Linked DNA regions of Homo sapiens: region 2 is linked to region 1. Evidence: promoter capture Hi-C in 16 types of primary human blood cells and fetal thymus (Javierre and others, 2016). All regions are on one chromosome and are shown on one strand. Each heading gives the region's core, a stretch centred on a gene start or on the middle of the fragment in contact. The rest is flanking DNA. Distances are from core to core; before and after follow the strand shown.

Evidence for each region. The method cuts DNA at HindIII sites, captures the fragments that hold promoters and counts their contacts. A CHiCAGO score of 5 or more calls a contact.
Region 2: a fragment that was not itself captured here is called in contact with the fragment with the promoter of RASSF5 in region 1 in 1 of 17 cell types (endothelial precursors); the score reaches 5.2 in endothelial precursors.

The regions. Positions count from the first base shown.
Region 1 is chr1:206,505,342-206,509,915 of GRCh38, forward strand. It overlaps RASSF5 (Ras association domain family member 5), which reads left to right and starts at 2,190. Exons shown (of 6, transcript NM_182663.4): 1 at 2,190-2,718. The coding sequence starts at 2,262. It overlaps LOC124904493 (a long non-coding RNA gene), which reads right to left and starts at 2,066. Exons shown (of 2, transcript XR_007066830.1): 1 at 1,525-2,066. RefSeq lists silencers at 1,806-1,855, 2,106-2,465, 2,506-2,595. The HindIII fragment of the contact is 3,877 bases long and covers 1,824-4,574 here.
Region 2 is chr1:206,149,956-206,154,529 of GRCh38, forward strand. All of the region lies in intron 1 of LOC105372873 (a long non-coding RNA gene), which reads left to right. Among named protein-coding and RNA genes, the nearest start is that of AVPR1B-DT, 34 kb to the left of the region's middle. The HindIII fragment of the contact is 2,738 bases long and covers 575-3,312 here.

The DNA.
Region 1 (4,574 bases), core at 940-3,439:
TGGACACAGCAAATATTTATATGGAATACAGATTTCTGCAACAACCCCAAGAGAACTGCTTGCAGAAAAAGTGGGAGATTAAAATAAGAGACCACAAGGGCAAATTGTATTTTCCCTTTTACACCTTCAGCAGAAAGTATTCAGGAATAGCCCTCATTGGGCTTTTATCTGTCAGGTCCACTGAAGTACACTTGTCCTGGGGAGAAGGAACAGAGAAGCCCATTCTCAGAATCACCACCTCAGACCTAGAGCAATGGTTTTCCAAGTTGGGTCCCTGGATCAATAGCATCAACACCTGGGAACTTGCTCAAAATGAGCCATCTCAAACCCCAGCCCCAGACCTATAGATTCTGAAACTTTGGGGATGAAGCCCAATAATCTTAACAAGCCCTCCAGATGACTGTGATGCATACCAAGGTTTGAAAACCACTGATGTAGCAAAAGCAAGGTTAGGAGAGGGAAGAGGAAAGGTAGAGGAGGGGTGGGGCAGAGGCGGTGGCCTGTGGCTTACACCCCTCATCGGAGCTCCTCTGTTTGGTAGCACTGTGGGGTTGACTGTCCCATGGGTCATTCCTCAGAAACCACCTCATAGGGTGAGCTCCCGCCTCTGGTGAGCCCCCAGAGCCCCAGGAACCTCTCTTCTGCTACAGATTTGGGAGGCAGAGGACTATGATTACCGTGAGGGAGAAGCCATGGAGCAAAGCTGGCTGGGAATTCCCTGGCCACTGGACTCTGGAAATCTTAGGAATTACCTAAAAATTACCTCCAAGGGAAAAACAAAAAGCAAAAGTGAAGATTCCCCTACGAAGCACTAGGGGGAGACCCATCTCTGGCCTGGGAAGAGAAGGGAGAGACCAGGTCCAGAAGAATTTAGACTATTCTTCTAAAAAATGACCACCGCTAGACGGACCAAACCGAACCTGTGTTTTAAGAGGAAAGCTGTGATCACTGAGTCATAATGACGGAGCTGGAGAGTGCCACGTTAACAACCACCTGTCTCCCCACCTCCAGCCCAATGTACAGTTAACAATACTGGGGCTAGAGAGGGCCAGGGCCCAGGCCCAGGTTCAGAGATCCAGGAGTCCTCCTTATCCATAAGATGGGCCTGTTTCCATGGGCAAAGGTGCCTGTCAGGAACAACTACATAATTTGTGGGAACCAGTGCAAAAAGAAAACGCCTGGCCCTTTGTTCAAAAAGTAAGACTTTCAAGATGGTGACCGCAGAGCGTTAAACCAGACAAGGGTCCATGAAGGCTTGAAGCAAGCCTTCACGGGGGAAAGTGCCGGGAGAAAGGAGATCTCTCTTTGGGTCCCATGAGTGAACCATCCATACCAGGTTCCACTTAGGGCATTTAGGGGAACTGGTATCTCCACAGTAATTACTAGAGCAGCTCTGGGGAACGGAGGGTTGGCTAAGGAAGAAAAGCTCCCCCAACCCTTGGGGCGAGGGAGCGTTCTCTCAATGGAGCCCCCCCAACTCCCCTCCACCCCCCACCAGTCTTCCAGGAAAGAGGAATACCCTACCCGGCAGGGCTGCGAAGGAAGGGGAAATCCAACCAGAGCGAAAGTCGCACGCGGACAGCTCTGCCAGCCCTTGGAGGCATCCGGCGGTCACCCACGGGACAAAGCGCGGCTGCGGGAGCGCGCGCGGGGCATTCCGGACCCGCGTCGAGCTCCGCTCTAGAGGGGGCGGCGGGCGGCGACAAGCCGGAGAGAGGAAGGGCCAAGGAGCACGGCCCTCCTGTCGGCACCATCAGCGGGAGAGTGGCGAGCGGACGCCTAGACGGAGGGGCCCTACTCAGACCCCATCGAGCCAGTTCCCAAGCTTTTCCCTCCGACCTGCTCCCTCCCGGGGCGCGTGAGGGTGCGGGTCGGGGGTGAACCTGGTGTTGGGGAAAGTGATTGGCAAGGGAAAGAGGCAGGGCTGAAGGCCTAGGGCCCCCCGCAGAAATGCGCCCTCTGAGCTGTACTGTACAGAGGCGCTCCTCTGCGGAATCCTGCAGCTGCTCCAGGTGAAGACGCCCCCAAATCCACACTCGCGCAGACGTCGCCTGGCACGGACCCTACCCCCTTCGGTCCGTCGGCGGTTCTCTTGGGTCGTCCTTCCTGCCACTCCGACTCTCCCCGCCCCCGCCCCGCCCAGCAGGCTGCGGTTCCTTTAAAGGCGCGCTGGTGTGGGGCGGCCCCTTCTCTCGGGGCTGGCTCGGGAGTAGCGCAGTCGCCAAAGCCGCCGCTGCCAAAGCTGCCGCCACTAGCCGGGCATGGCCATGGCGTCCCCGGCCATCGGGCAGCGCCCGTACCCGCTACTATTGGACCCCGAGCCGCCGCGCTATCTACAGAGCCTGAGCGGCCCCGAGCTACCGCCGCCGCCCCCCGACCGGTCCTCGCGCCTCTGTGTCCCGGCGCCCCTCTCCACTGCGCCCGGGGCGCGCGAGGGGCGCAGCGCCCGGAGGGCTGCCCGGGGGAACCTGGAGCCCCCGCCCCGGGCCTCCCGACCCGCTCGCCCGCTCCGGCCTGGTCTGCAGCAGAGACTGCGGCGGCGGCCTGGAGCGCCCCGACCCCGCGACGTGCGGAGCATCTTCGAGCAGCCGCAGGATCCCAGAGTCCCGGCGGAGCGAGGCGAGGGGCACTGCTTCGCCGAGTTGGTGCTGCCGGGCGGCCCCGGCTGGTGTGACCTGTGCGGACGAGAGGTGCTGCGGCAGGCGCTGCGCTGCACTAGTAAGTGTGAAGGCAGGGGAGGGGCGTGCGGGGAGACCGCAGTCTGGGGGCGAAGGACTGGGAGGGCCCTGGGGCAGGGAGAGAGGGGCCATTACACTCTTTGGCTCCAGGGGAGCCCCGAACATAAGGAGATAACAACCCCTGGGGACAGTCCGCTCCTTAGTTCCCTGCCCGGTATCCTTTAGTGCCTGCCCACTACCTAGGTATGGTTATGCGGTAGTTAACAGATACCTGTCTCCTGACAGGTGCGTGCCTTGGCCCTCCACACACACACACACACACACACACACACACACTCGCACACAGGTTGTGGGGGGTGGGTGGGTGATGGCCTCGGCGGCCTCTGTCATCTCCCTGTGCACCCTCATGGTTTTGTTGTGAGTTCTTGGGAGTGGGTTGTGAGACTGCTGTTGAGATGACCGTTTGACCCTTGCTTATTAGGGTTACTGACAAAACGCTTGTTTGTCCGCCCATGGTACAGGCTCAGACCTCTCCTCCAGGGGGACGTATTGGGACAGGGAGGAGACCTTGTTAGATTTTGGATAAAGGCAGGCTGTGAGGCTGAAGAGAGCCTGAAGTCACCCTGAACCCGTGCCCCCTCCTGCCTTTCACCTCTGGCCCCTCAAACCTTTGGACTCTGCTCCAATGTTTGGCTGTGCCCTGCCTCCTCCCCTTCCTCCTCCTGGGTTCCTGCCCTAGTCGTCATGCTCTAACATTACTCAGCTCCTGACAGGGTCCCTTCCTCTCCACAGCCCTCAGGCCCCTCCAGTCACCTCCTGAGCCAGGCGCTTCTCAAAGCCAGAAAACACTGGGCCCCCAGTGTATAGATTTTCTGAGCCAATCTTCAGTCTCCTTGGGGGTTTATTATTTTTCTCCTCCTACAGTTAGGGGTGTGTATGCCTTTAATAGGTGTCCACCCTCCACCCCCACCCCGGCATTTGCTCTTGCGTGTTTATCAGAGGATATCCACAGCCATGTGTTCATGTGTTTACATGGATATTTCAAATATCTGAAGCCCAAAGCACAGACAATGGCACAGCCTCTAACAAGCATCTCTGGAAATGGATTGTGGTTTGCATCTTTCAGCAAAGGCCCTTCCCCTATGGCAGCAGCCTCACGTCTCCCATCCAACTGCAGCGTTGGACAGCAGCAGTGATTTCCACATCAGGAAAACCCTACCCTTTTTCTGCCTGCAGTCTGCAGCGGAGGCTGTTCAATGTGCTGCCCGCTGCAGCTGGCTGCAGGGAAATAGAACTCAGACACTAAGCCTGGGTCAAGTGGAAGGGAAAGATTGGAAGGGCAAGTGGGTGCTGCTCTTTCCTCCACCAGAACCCCCAGTTCAGGTGCTAATTAAGAAGGAAGGAGTAAAGGTTTGTAGAGGTACATGTTGTGGGTAGAGGGGCTGCTGTCCCTTGGTAAATGCCTTTGACTACAGTAGAATCAAATGCAACTTATCCTTGGATGTGTTGGCAGCTTTTGCACTTTCAAGATTCCCTTACTGCATCCAACAACCCTACACACAGGGAGAGAGGCAGGAGCCTCACTGAAATGGGTTTTATCATAGCTGGAATCCCAGGAAATCTGCTTCGTTGGCATTCTAGTTTGTAGTTAGACTTTGGGGGACTGTATCACTTGTTGAAGATTTTGCACATAGTTTTGTGATTTTCTTTTTTTTTTTTGGTTTGGTGATAATGGTGCGTTTGTGTGTATTTGCGTGTGCCTGTGTGTGATACTCCATGACTAAATGAATTGATCCTTACGTCACATCAGAATTGTCGATCTCCTTTGATTAAGTCATACGTCGTTTCTAGTGGCAGGAAGATCTAGGCCCCCGGGCAGTACCTCTGACTTTGTGT
Region 2 (4,574 bases), core at 694-3,193, 360 kb before region 1:
AGAGGGATTTCTCACAGGCTCCCATGGCATGCCTGGAAGTCCTAATTCCATGCCTAAAAGGTCAAGTTCCATATCTAAAAGTAAAGGTTTCAATCCTAGAGTGTCATATGTAATGCCTGGGGAAGATCACAACTGGGGAGACTCTTCATGGCTAGACATTCAGAATCCATGTGGGAAGGCCAGGTTCCATGTTTTAAGGGCCACATTCTACATAGAAGGAGCAAGTATTTATGCTTAGAAGTCTAGGTGTCATGGCCAGAGGTTCAAGTTCCATGCCTGTAGGGTTGGGGCTCATGGATTTCTACATTATATACTTGGAAAGGTAGACTTCACATCTAAAACACGTAAATCAGTTCCAGCTTTCCTACATGGAATGCCATATTACATGCTTTTGGGGCCAGATTCCCTGCTCAGAGGTTGAGATTTCTTTCATGGAATGCCAAGTTCCATGACTGTTGCATGTTTCCAGTCTTGGATATTCTTGGATTCTATACATGAAGTGCCATCTTCCATGCATGGGGAGCACCAGGTTTCATGTCTTGGGCGACCAACTTCTATGACTGAGACACAAGCTTAATGTCTGGAGTGCCAAGCAATATACTTATTAAGCCATGTTCCATATGGGGAGATTGAGATTCCACATATTGTGTTCCATTCCATTCCTGAAAGTTTAAATTTCATGCTTGGAGATAGAGATCCTTACATGGGGTGTCAGGTTCCATGCTCTTAGGGTCAGAATCCATTCTGGAAATTGAGATTCCATACATGGAGTGCCAGATTTCATGCTTGTAGAGCCAACTTCCATGTTTGGATATTGGGATTCCACACATAGAGTGGCAGATTCTGTGCCTGGAGGCATGGTTTTACCAATGGAGAGTCAATTCAGTGCCTGGAAGGCTACATTTCTACTCAGAAATTCAGGTTTTACCCACAGATGGCCAAGTTCCCAAAGTGGAGAGCCATATTACATTTCTTTGAATCAGGTTTCATGCTCATAACTCCATGTTTCATCTCTAGAAGTACAGATTCCATACTCGGAGGGTCATGGAACACCTGGAAGATGGCCAGGTTCCATACCTGATGGGCCAGACGCCATGACTTGCGGTTCAGGTTCAACCCACGGAAGACCATGATCCAACTTAGACAAAGAGGTTTCATAAAGCAGTAACTTATGGCATGCCTAGAAGGCCTGATTCCATGCTAGCGGCCCAGGATCCACATATAGAAGCCCAGGTTCCACACACACACATGTCGTATTTTATGCCTGGAAAGGAAGGATTCACACCTGGAGAGATATTCCATGTTTGGAAAGTCAGATTTTATATATGGAGGGACAGGTTCTGTGTTTAAAGGGATACATTTTATACCTGTGTTGCAAGTTTTCATGCTTAGAGGCCTAGGTTCAATGCTTGGAGGTCCAGCCACTGGACCTGTACAGTGGCTTCTCATGTGGAGGACCAGATTGTATGCTTGGAAAAGGAGAAATAACACCAAGAAGACCTAAATCAGTTCCTGAAAGTTCAGAGTTCATATAGGACTTCAGGTTCTGTGTTTGGAGATTGAGATTTCACATATGGATTGTCAGTTTCCAGCCTTGGAGAACAGGTTCCATATCTTAGATTTTTTAGAGAATCAATTTTCAATTTCCTAAATTCCAAAGGTACTCTTTTTTTTTTTTTTTTTTTTTTTTCAGACCGCGTCTTGCTCTGCTGCCCAGGCTGGAGTGCAGTAGCGTGATCTCGGCTCACTGCAAGCTCCGCCTCCTGGGTTCACGCCGTTCTCCTGCCTCAGCCTCCTGAGTAGCTGGGACTACAGGCGCCCGCCACCATGCCCGGCTAATTTTTTTTTTTTTTTTTAGTAGAGACGGGGTTTCGCCATGTTAGCCAGGATGGTCTCGATCTCCTGACCTCATGATCCGCCTGCCTTGGCCTCCCAAAGTGCTGGGATTACAGGTGTGAGCCACCGTGCCCAGCCTTTTTTTTTTTTTTTTTTTCCGAGACGGAGTCTCCCTCTATTGCCCAGGCTGGAGTGCTGCAGTGCAATGGCGCAATCTCAGCTCACTGCAACCTCCGCCTCCCGGGTTCAAGCAATTCTTCCGCCTCAGCCTCTCGAGTAGCTGGGACTACAGGCGTGTGCCACCACACCCAGCTAATTTTTTTGTATTTTTAGTAGAGACAGGGTTTCACCATGTTGGCCAGGCTTGTCTCTAATTCCTGACCTCATGATCCGCCCACCTTGGCCTCCCAAAGTGCTAGAATTACAGGCGTGAGCCTCTGCGCCCAGCCTGTTTCTTAAAATTAATATGTCTTATTGCATATGTGAGGTCAAGGTGTCATACTGTCTCATCATTTCCACCTCCTCTTTCACAATTCCCATTCTCCATTTTATTAAAAATGAATGAATGAATAAATGATTATCACATGTTTAAGGCTTCCTGAATTTAATTATGGGGCATTCCACTGGGGTGTAATTACCTGCAGCATGATATTGTAGAACAACTCAATATATGGAAGCCTCCTTTAGTCAAGAAATTGTAATCCTACACTAAGGCTACATGTTTTTGTCTTTATATTTTTGATAAGGGTGCAGCATAATATAGAAACAAGGTATTTGGGGACATCCTGAATTCATGTATATTGAGGAGTGAAGTGGCAGGAATTATGGCAAATTTTGTTGAAGGGTCTTGCCTTTTGCATTGCCTAATTATGATCAAATAATGCATTGCTACTATAGGAGAGTTCTGAGAGGGCAAAGTAGAGAGGCTCAGTACAAAATACAGAACTTACCAGAGCTCATTCCATCCTGGAGACAAACTTATGACAAGACTCTGTGCCTTATCCACCTCCCTGCCTCCTTTCCTTCCTGTCTTTTTATCCATCTTAGAATTAAGATATTTAAATTTTGTCTGAAGCATGTCAGAGAATAACAACATGCTATAAAATTTCACTTGTGTTCACCCATGTGTCAGCTGAGTATTTTGCATTGTTACATTTTTATTTTACTGTATTTTATTTTATTTTTTTTTGAAATGGGGTCTAGCTATGTTGCAAACTCCTGGCCTCAAACTCCTGGGCGCAAGCAATCCTCCTGCCTTAGCCTCCCAAAATGCTAGGATTACAGGTGTGAGCCACTATGCCCTGCCTATTTTGCATTATTTCAAAGAGAAGGTGAGGTCACACATTTACTTCCAACAGATCAACATTATATCTTCAAGTTAGCAAAAGCAATTGAAAGTAGGTAGTGGCATTCTATATTTCCATAAATGCTCCTTTAGACTTGTAAAAAAATTGTCATTAATTTTGGCCAAAAGCTTATTGATGTCATAAAACCATACTCAGTTTTTACTTGGACACATTCTCCTGCTGTTCCTCATCAACCACTTTGTGGGTTTAGTCATTCAAAGTATGTACTTACTAGATTTAGATTAATTCAATGGAGATATGTTGTGAATTCAACTGAAAATAATGCACTTAAATAATAATTACTGTATCTTTTGTAATCAGCACACTTACCAGAGCTTCAACACCTGCCTTTCCTTTTGCTATTTATTTCCACAAGATAGATTAAACTACATTTTTAACAGTAGAACATTTACTTATGTAGAACAAAATGTTCCTAAGCTGTAAACTACTGTGTAATGACCTGAACACTCTAGAAAGCCAGCTTCATTACATTTGTTTTGGGAGTGCGCACATAAAATGTTGAAGGACCACTGTATTAAAAGGCTATTAGCATAATCTCTAGGAGACACAACCAGAAAACCAAGCATAGAGGCTGAGCAGCCAGAACCAATACTGCTACCGCTGTCCCTGCCACTCAACACAGGCCGAATAGTGGGCAGGGATGCTATGCCAAGCCCCTGCCTTGATTCTCTCTGGAAACTGGATGTATCTTTGCTGCCTCTCTGCTGTCACCTGAAGGGATTCCCTCAGGACCCCGTCTTCATGACTTCAGTCTTCCACACTGAAATCACATGCAGGAGCACTGATTGGTGGAGTCTGTGCCACAATTTTTCCTCACTTCAAGGGAATCTGGGAAAATTTGGCCTCTATTTTCAAAAGGCAGACTCACTAGATGGGAGAGTCCCAAATATAAAGAGTATTCAAAGCAACTAGAGAGCTTAGAAAAAAAAAAAAGAATGACAAATGCTATCACACAAAGTATATAATAACACATGATTTTAAAAACAAATATTTTCTTTAATTCATTACATGATCGAGGATTGCATTTATGATGTTCATTTTACTCTAATGCTTTACTATAACACTGAGCCAGTTTTATGTTTCTCCCCATTCAAAAAATGATGCATGCTCCTCAAATTTACTTTAAATTAATTGCATGAAAAAGGATGATTAGTCAATAAATAAGTCTTGAAAAGACATATTCTATAGTGTTCGGTTTGGGGTTTTCATATTAAAATACACATTGAAATTTACTACATGATATAACAAGAAAAAAACTACTTTCAAGGCCTGATATTTGATTCTTCTATCTTGTATTTGAGAAACCAATGTATTTTACAGATTTTTACAAAACAAAGTAGACATTAATTCCACTTTTAGGGATGTAAATCC